Linked DNA regions of Homo sapiens: all the other regions are linked to region 1. Evidence: promoter capture Hi-C in human tissues and cell types (Jung and others, 2019). All regions are on one chromosome and are shown on one strand. The core of a region is centred on a gene start or on the middle of the fragment in contact, and the rest is flanking DNA. Distances in the headings are between cores, read along the strand shown. Region 1 holds the start of KRT83 (keratin 83). Region 2 holds the start of EIF4B (eukaryotic translation initiation factor 4B). Region 3 holds the start of KRT79 (keratin 79).

Evidence for each region. The method cuts DNA at HindIII sites, captures the fragments that hold promoters and counts their contacts. A contact is called where the count stands out against the background at its distance.
Region 2: a contact is called between the fragment with the promoter of EIF4B here and the fragment with the promoter of KRT83 in region 1, in 5 of the 25 tissues and cell types used here (H1 embryonic stem cells, IMR-90 fibroblasts, heart right ventricle and 2 more).
Region 3: a contact is called between the fragment with the promoter of KRT79 here and the fragment with the promoter of KRT83 in region 1, in 7 of the 25 tissues and cell types used here (bladder, heart left ventricle, heart right ventricle and 4 more).

What each region holds. Positions count from the first base shown.
Region 1 is chr12:52,319,990-52,322,769 of GRCh38, forward strand. It overlaps KRT83 (keratin 83), which reads right to left and starts at 1,409. Exons shown (of 9, transcript NM_002282.3): 1 at 963-1,409. The coding sequence starts at 1,346. The HindIII fragment of the contact is 13,306 bases long and covers 1-2,780 here.
Region 2 is chr12:53,005,091-53,007,870 of GRCh38, forward strand. EIF4B (eukaryotic translation initiation factor 4B) reads left to right here and starts at 1,366. Exons shown (of 15, transcript NM_001417.7): 1 at 1,366-1,406. The coding sequence starts at 1,394. RefSeq lists enhancers at 737-1,480, 1,481-2,224. The HindIII fragment of the contact is 23,564 bases long and covers 1-2,780 here.
Region 3 is chr12:52,832,921-52,835,700 of GRCh38, forward strand. KRT79 (keratin 79) reads right to left here and starts at 1,391. Exons shown (of 9, transcript NM_175834.3): 1 at 864-1,391. The coding sequence starts at 1,340. The HindIII fragment of the contact is 20,589 bases long and covers 1-2,780 here.

The DNA.
Region 1 (2,780 bases), core at 159-2,658:
CTTCTGCGCTGCAGGGGGTGTCTTCTCTCCCTTTGACAATTATAGGAACATCCCTCTCCCAGCGATGAGGTTGGCCCACTACTCCACTCAGCTTCTTTTGTCTAATAACTTGGCCACACCCTTGGTAGGTCCTATCTTATGCTATCCTTGGTCTCTCATGCTATTAGAAATTCCACATTTTTTTTTCCCGATCCTTTCTGGTGGGCATCTCTCTAGTGTGACTCCTCTCTTGAGGTTTTGGCTCTGGAGGGCTCTTTCCAACCCCAGAACATGTTCCTAGTCAGAGCCTTTTCTCCCAGTCTCTCACATCACTGCCACATGGTGGTTGCCTGGATTCAGTGGAGAAGGTGGCTGCAAACTCTAGTTGGACACTGACTACACAGATGGTTTCAACCAAACCCAGACTGTGCACTGCCTGCCTCCCCATAAAGCCTGTGAGGATGGGGACCATGACTCTTGCTCACCCCTGGATCCTGAGCCCCAGGAACAGTGGCTTGGACAAAATACTCTAGACCCTGCTCAGTGGCCAAATCACTGTGTGGTATAGAAAGAGTTCTGTGCCATCCACGAGACCCACTTCCAGACAGTTTTCCAGCACCACACTTATTAGCCCTGCCTTGATGGAGACAGCATCTCCTTGGCATTTAAGCAGTTATTTGGCTTCAAATGCCCTGAGCGCCCACACAGTGGTCCTTTGCTCACTAGGTGATATTATCACTCAGTGTGGAAGGCTCTGCCCCTCGTTCTGCTTTTGTGTTTTCAGTTAATCTCCCCCATCAGTCTGGTAGCTCCCGGTCCCATTTTTGTCTTTCTGTCTGTGTCCTAGAAGTATGACTACCTTTCCCTTTGGCCTGGGAACTTCTGTGGGCAAGTTCTTGCCTTTGACTTCCCTGTCAGTGCCCAGCCTGAGTTCTGAACATGAGTAGGGGTTCAGGAAGGGTGTGATCCAGGACGACACCCACCTTGTCGATGAAGGCCGCGAATCTGCTGTTGAGGGACTTGATCTGCTCCTTCTCCTCCTGCTTCACGCACTGCGCGTTGGGGTCTATCTCCAGGTTGAGGGGCGTGAGGAGGCTCTCGTTGACCGACACGGTGGTGATGCATGGGGGGCTGGGTCCGCACACGCCCCCGGAGCGGTAGCCGAAGCTGCGTCCGCAGGAGCCGGCGCGGAAGCCCCCGCACACGCTGTGGCTGCCAAAGCCCCCGGTGAGGCCGCGGTAGCAGGAGATGCCGCGGTAGGGGGCGGCGGTGATGCAGCAGCGGCTTGGCCGGGGCCCGCAGGCAGAGACACAGCTGAAGTTTCCAGGGCGGAACCCACAGCCTATGGAGTTGAAGCCACAGGTCATGACGGAGGTTAGGAGGTGTCTGAACAGTGGAGTAGATGGCAGAGGATGGAACCAAGGGCCTGTGCTCCCTGGCTGATGGCAGGCCCTTTTATGTGCCAGGGGCAGCTGGTGTTAAAAGAGGGAGCAAAGAGACAATAGCTGAATTTTATTGGCTTGGCATCACCCTGGCCTCTTAAGCTAGAACCCTGCTTGCCTCTTCAGTGTGGCTGCATCAACAATCCCTGGCCACGGGCCCTGTTTCATCTTCAAAGCCCTTTATAAGCTTCCTCCTTGCTCCTGCCCCTCCCACTGGCACTGCTGTGGAGCGGGGAGAGGGGTTCCTGAAAGCATTAGTTGCATTCTGCGGTCCAAGCGAGGGGAATGGGTGCAGTGACCTGGGGTAAAGCCTGCTCTCTGAACCCTGTTCTGAAAGGGGCAGAGCTAGGCTATGGGCCCTGGACCCATGGCCAAGCCCTGGGGTGGAGTGGCTGGCCTGTCCCAAGGAGGGGGCTGCCTCTGAGACAACCTCTTGCTGTAGGCTTTCCTGTCTTTTTCTCAAAGGCGGGTTCCTTTCCTCATTGTCAAGATTGGCCGCTCCTATCCTATTCCTGCTCAGAGCCTGGTCAAGGATGGGAGTGGGGGTAGAGATTTGGGGTGGGAGGAGGGCATGTTCTTTGCACTTTGGGTATTCCTAGTGCAGGGACACCATCTGGGACATGGAAGAAACTGATTCAGAGAGTTCAGGACAGTGCCAGGGCTATGCTTCAGAGTTCCAGGTGTCATTGCTGATGGGATCAGGAGCGGGGAGTGTGGAATACCTCAGAGCTCCAGGGACTCATGGAGGAGAGTGGGGACCTGGGCTTGAGGAGGATTGGGGTGGGGTAGTACAGGATTGAGAGATGACCAGAAAAGAGTCTGGCTCTGATTTGCAGACTAGACTATGTGTATTCATTTATTCATTTATTCATTTATTCATTTATTCAGGAAATACTTATTTGGTGCCCACCAACTATGCACTAGCCACTGTGCTAGGTTCTGGAAATCCTACAGAGACCTGGGGTGTTTGGAGGTAGCATGCATGTGGGGGAGCCAACATTTGGCTAGGGGGAAAGATGAGAAGCCACAGATGGGGGGAAGGCCCTCACAATGTCCAGGCTGATTGGTGTTCTTTAGGTTCCCAGCAGGGAAGCTCAGTGATGGGGTCTTGGGGTGTATGTACTCACCAGGAAGGAGGGAAGGTGCGGGAGGTGAGGGACATCAGCAGGGTCCTTAAATGAGATCACTCTCTCACCTCAGAGAACACACTGGGTGAGAGAAGGGTGCTAGCTCATGTGGCTGTTCCTAAAGCCAAGCTCTCTTACTTTGGGCCCTTGTTCCTTTGGGTTAGGACAGGCAATGGCTTTGATGGATGGACAGTCGGACCGAGCCAGGAGGTTTGCCTTAACCCGAGGACCT
Region 2 (2,780 bases), core at 116-2,615, 690 kb after region 1:
ATGTTGTACCCGCAAGTGTCTGTGCCTGGCACACGGTGGGAAACAAAAATTTTCATTTAATGAATGAAATGGAACATCAGCTAGGGGAAGCATGAATAGCCCTAGTCTCAGAAATCCTAAAGGCCTAAGTTGGACTAAACCTAGTCAGCAAATTGGACCATTAAATGAGGTAAAAGCCCATGACAATTAAGTGTTCAGCATTTGTTACCTTCTTATTCCGTCTAAATATGCCTCATTAAAACCATTCTTACACAAGACGTTCGATTTGTTTTGCCTTTACAAAAAGTAATTTGAAAACAAACAGTGGTTGATGCCTGTAATCCCGGCACTGTGGGAGGCCTCGGAGGGAGGAATGCTTGAGTCCAGGAGTTCGAGACCAGCCCAGGCGACACAGGGAGACACACCGCCCCCCCCAAGCCCGCCACTCTGTCTCCACACAAAGACTTTTTTTTAATTAGCTGGTCCTGGAGGCACTCGCCTGTGGTCCCAGCTACTCAGGAGGCTGAGGTGGAAGAACTGCTTGAGCCCCGGAGGTTGAGGCTGCAGTGAGCCGAGATCGCGCCACTGCACTCCAGCTTGGGAGACAGGGCGAGACCCCGTCTCAAAAAATAAAAATAAATAAAAATAAAATCAGTGATTTCTGATGTGGCTTTTAAAAACTAGGCCGGGCGCGGTGGCTCACGCCTATAATCCAGCACTTTGGGAGGCCGAGGCGGGTGGATAGCCTGAGACCAGGAGTTCAAGACCAGCATGGCCAATATGGTGAAATATCCCGTTTCTACTAAAAATACAAAAAACTAGCAGCGAATGGTGGTGGGCGCCTGTAATCCCAGCTACTCCAGAGGCTGAGGCAGGTGAATCGCCTGAACCCGAGAGGCGGGGGTTGCAATGAGCCGAGGTCGCGCACGCCATTGCACTCCAGCCCGGACAACAGGAGCGAAACTCCGTCTCAAAAAAGTACATTAAACTCAGAATCTTCCCTTTCAGCACATCCATTTCGCCACACCCATCACCGGCTCCGTGCAGAGTAAGCAGAAGCAGCAGCGAAGCCCCGCCCTTCCCGCCACTCTTCCGGCAGGAAGTCTGTGCGTCAGGAGGCCGGCCAGGACTCAGCTCCAGCCCCGCGCTCGCGTGTAGCCCTACGTAAAGCGTGAGGGGTTTCGCGACAACCCAGGCCCCGCCCCTTTGGCCACATGTCGCGCATGTCTTCCCGTCGGACGGCGTGCCACCTCGCCGCGCAGCTTTACGAACCTAGAGCAGCGCCGCCCCGCCTCCTGTCTCCGTCCTCACCTCCCCGCCCCCTCCCAGCTTCGCGTCTCCTAGCTCGACGCGCCCGCTATAATCACGTGATTGCCTCATCCGGGTCTTTTGCGTTCTCTTTCCCTCTCCCAACATGGCGGCCTCAGGTGAGCGAGCAGCCGAGCGCGGCCAAGGACTGGGCTCTGAAACCCCCCTCCGAGCGTGATCCACTGATTTCCTGAAGTCGGGGAATTGCTGGCACTGGTTCCTTTCTGAATTGAGGGCTGCGGCAGGCTGGCGGCGTGGCCCTGTTAGGTTACTGCCTCTGGATGTTTGGGGGGGAGGGGAAGGACACCTTCCCCTCCCCCTCACACTCTTTTCACCCTTTCTGCGCGAGATTGGAATAGGCAGTAATGGTAGACTCTGGCTTGAATTGGGGAAGGAGGCGCAGAAAGGTGTGCGGGTGGTGCGAGGCCTTTTCGTAGACGTGAATCACCGTGCCCGCGTGAAGGCGTGGAGGAAGGAAGGAGGCGGTTGCTGCGCGGACGAGTGCACATTAGACTACGTCTCCAAGGCGCGAGGCTGTAGCGGACCGGAGTGGGGGGTAGGGGAGTAAGTGTGGTGGGGGGGAGCAGTTGGAACGCGAGCGCGAGTTGGTGGAGGGGCGGGGGAAGGCAGCGGTGCGCGTGCGCGGTAGGAGACACGAGGGTAGTAGAGACGGGCGCGCCTTCAATGCGTGCGCTAGAACCCAGATGGGAAGCTTTTTAACGCGCCTGTGTTGCGCACTTATGTCCTTTTAGGTTGTCTCTTCCCTTTCTAGAGTGTGGGCCCTGTGCCTGTATTCTTCTAAGGGTGTGTGTGTTAGCCTTGGAGGTTGGTGCTATTGGCGTTAGATGGGGGTGGGGAATCCAGTTAGGTGCGCCCACGTGTTGGAGAAGCACCGGTGTGCACCTAGATTTCCTTCTAGGCTTTTTTCTCATACTCAATTGGAGGCATTTTTTACTCAGCGCAGCTATATGCCAGGATCAGGTTTCGCTTCCGGCGCTTCCATGTTGGTTGAATTTGGATAGCTCCAATGGTAGATTTCAGCCTTTTTTTTTTTTTTTTTTTTTTTTTTTTAAGGTAACTGTGCAACTACCAGCAGGTACTTTTAAAATAGTGCTTACTAATGGCTGGAGTTGCTTACTTCTTTAGACAACCTTGGAGGGGAGTATCAGTGCCTTGCAAGTCTAATTACATTTCTAATGGGCTTATAAAAGCAGTGATGACCCAACATCTTGTAGCATTGATTTTAGTTTGAGGAATATAGTTTGTTTTCTCTGGCATGACCTTGCATTCTTCAAAACATTATTTGAACTTCTATCTCTGGGTGCTCATTTCTTACCTAGTAATTCATCGTCTCTATTACAAAGAAGCTAAGGGTTTTGGTTGGCTTTGGAAAATGTTGAGAAATTTGAGGTGCATTTGAACATCTTTCATTGGTGTAACGCTTGACAGTTGACCAAGCACTTTTGTGCATGTTGTCTCCTTCCATCCTGAGG
Region 3 (2,780 bases), core at 141-2,640, 510 kb after region 1:
ACCTCAGGAGAAAAGGGATGTGCATGTTCTTCGGAAACACACAAATCACTGAACCAAGGTACATTTGTCTGCCAGACCTTCCCCATCATGACCCGCTGCCTTGGCTCAGGATCGAGGTGGACAATGCCAGCGAAACAGACCAGGAAATCCCAGCACAAGTGTTGCTCCCATCCATCTGGAGGCAAGGGCAAGGTTCAGGGCATGCCTATGGGCAACAGGTCAAATTCCACATTCCCAGAGCTTGGTGACCTGGTGACCACCCTCCTCATTGTCCACCCCAAATTGAGCTTCTTCACTCAGAGTGTAAAAAAAGGAGAAGCGGAAGGGAGCCTACCCCTAGGACCCCACCCACACACAACTGTGTTTTGATCACATCTTGCCCTTAAGCCTCCTCCAAGCCTGAAAGAATGGAACAAACAGGGCTCCATGCTCTTAGCCTTGAACAACTCTTTCAACTCCTGAGCATTGTTTCCCCAGCTGTAAAATGACAAAAGGCAATGCAGGCCACCCCACTAAGAGGAGCTATGAGGACAATCCATTTTTTGATGATGAGGTAAGGCTACTGTGCAATCAATCGTATTAATCATGGTGGTAGGACAGGCTTCAACACGGGCAAGGTGGACTTGGCAAACCGGACTCATGAGTAGACTGGAGACTCCCCCCGCACAGGCACGGTGAAGACCTGAAGGCCGCCTCCAGCCACCCACGTCTCGGCATCCCAGGCTCAGACCGGGAGAGCTCCAGAGCTCTATCAACCACCACCCTAGTACAAGTGGGCTACAGCAGCCCTGGCCCAGCCCACCCTCTATTAGAGGTCCCGCTTCTTCCCCAAGAGCTCCCTTCCTCCTTCCTGCTTGGCCCACCTTGTCGATGAAGGAGGCGAACTTGTTGTTGAGGGTCTTGATCTGCTCCCGCTCCTGAGTGCGCACTCGCTGGATCTCGGGGTCAATCTCCACATGGAGGGGGGTCAGCAGGCTCTGGTTGACAGTGACCTCCTGGATCCCCCCAGGAGGACAAGCAGGCCCAAACGTCTGCCTGCCAGCCCCCTGTCCCATAAATGCCCTGCTGCCAAAGCCAAAGCCCCCCAGAGCCCGCCCCAACAAGGCCCCTCCGGCCACACTGACAGAGATACTCTTGTGGCCCCCCAAGTTATAGAGGCTTCGGCTGCCAAAGCCACCTGTGCCGGGGCCACAGTGGGCCCCGCCACCACTGCCACTGCTCCGAGACACCGTCACTGAGCTGAAGCTGGTGCGGGCCTGGGACCCACTCCCTCCGCTGGCAGAGTTGGAGCTGAAGCCCCCTTTTGTGGAGTATGTTTGCCGAGAGACGGAGGACCTCATAGCTGCAGAGGGGCCGGAGGGCAGGATGAGAGGGCAGGAAGGGAGTGCCGTGAGCTGCTGGGCCACTGTGGGCTTTTTATCTTTTCCCAACTGGGCCGGCTCCCCAGCTCCACAGACACTCCTGCCCCATCGCCCCAAGGGGAGAGGGAGGGGTCCTTAGGGCCACGGGGAGTGCCCTCTCCCCAAGCAGGAGGGAGGGGCCCTCCCGGTTATCACCTGTGCTCCAGAGCTGGGGCTGAGCCGAGACTGTCTGGGGCAGGATGCCACCTTCTCCCCCTGCCCCCAGGCTCTCCTCGGTTGGCACAGGATGATACGGGCTCCCATGGCCACCCCCACCACCCAGTGGCTGGCTTGCTGTCCTCCCACCCAGCCCCAGAGGCCACTGTCAATAGGGCTCTGTTCTACGGGGTTTGTCCCAGGCCCCTGTTGTAAGCCAAGGCTGCAGGGCCTGGGGCTGTACAGGTGGTAGGAGAAGGAGCATTGGGCAATGGGCTGCCAGAGAGAGCATCCAGGCCTGCTCCCATCCCACCCCCAGCCAACGGCCCACCACTCCTCCCAGGTCCAGGGTGTGTGACACAGGTGACAGGGCGAGAGTGGGGATAGCCTGTGCCTCTGCCGTACAGTGGCAGAGCCTTCTGGGAAGTGAGCCTATGCTGGCAAAGTGAATTCAAGGACAGAAAGAGGATCCCTGCCCAATCGTGGGGCCCAGGCCCTTGATCAGGAGGTAGAAAAGGCCTGGGGTCCTCAGGCAGGGCCCAGAAGCCTGGGAGCAAAGGACATTCTTATGGAGGCTGAAGAGAGGGCAGGGGATTTAACCAATACCTGAGATCCCTGAGCCTCTACCCCACAGCAGAGTCCCCACAGAAAGGTTCAGCCACTTTGGAGGGAGCTGGAGGTGGGTCAAGGACACAGACCACCCTGGGTGGAGACAGGCACAGCTCCAAAAAGCAGGTGTTCCAAAAAAGCCCCAGGAGGCCCACGCAGCAGCCCCGTCACTCCCATCTTCCCCTGCCCCACATGCAGGAGCCCATGTTTCTGATTCAGAGGGGCCAGGGGAGCTCCTTAAATCACCTCATATGGTCCCCGCCGCCCACTTCCTATTCACCTCAGTCTGCTGGGACCAAACACAGCCCCAAGCAAAGACAGAGACGTCAACTGTCAGGGCCGAGGGGTGACTGAGGAGGTGACTTTAGACACTGGCCCTCCCCACCCCCTTCTCTCAGCAAGAAGATGGGCTCAAAGTGAACAGAGACTTGCCTGAAAAAAAGGAGCGAGGACAGCATCGCTGTGCTCCCCACCCCCATCAGATGAGCAGGACAACCAGCCAGGCTGTGTCCCCAGGATCCCAACAGAGAGGACATGGGACTGCCACGGAGAAGGCTTGGCCTCCCTCCCATGTTCCCCACAGCCCAGCAAGTGAAGAGACAGCCTGCTCCAGGA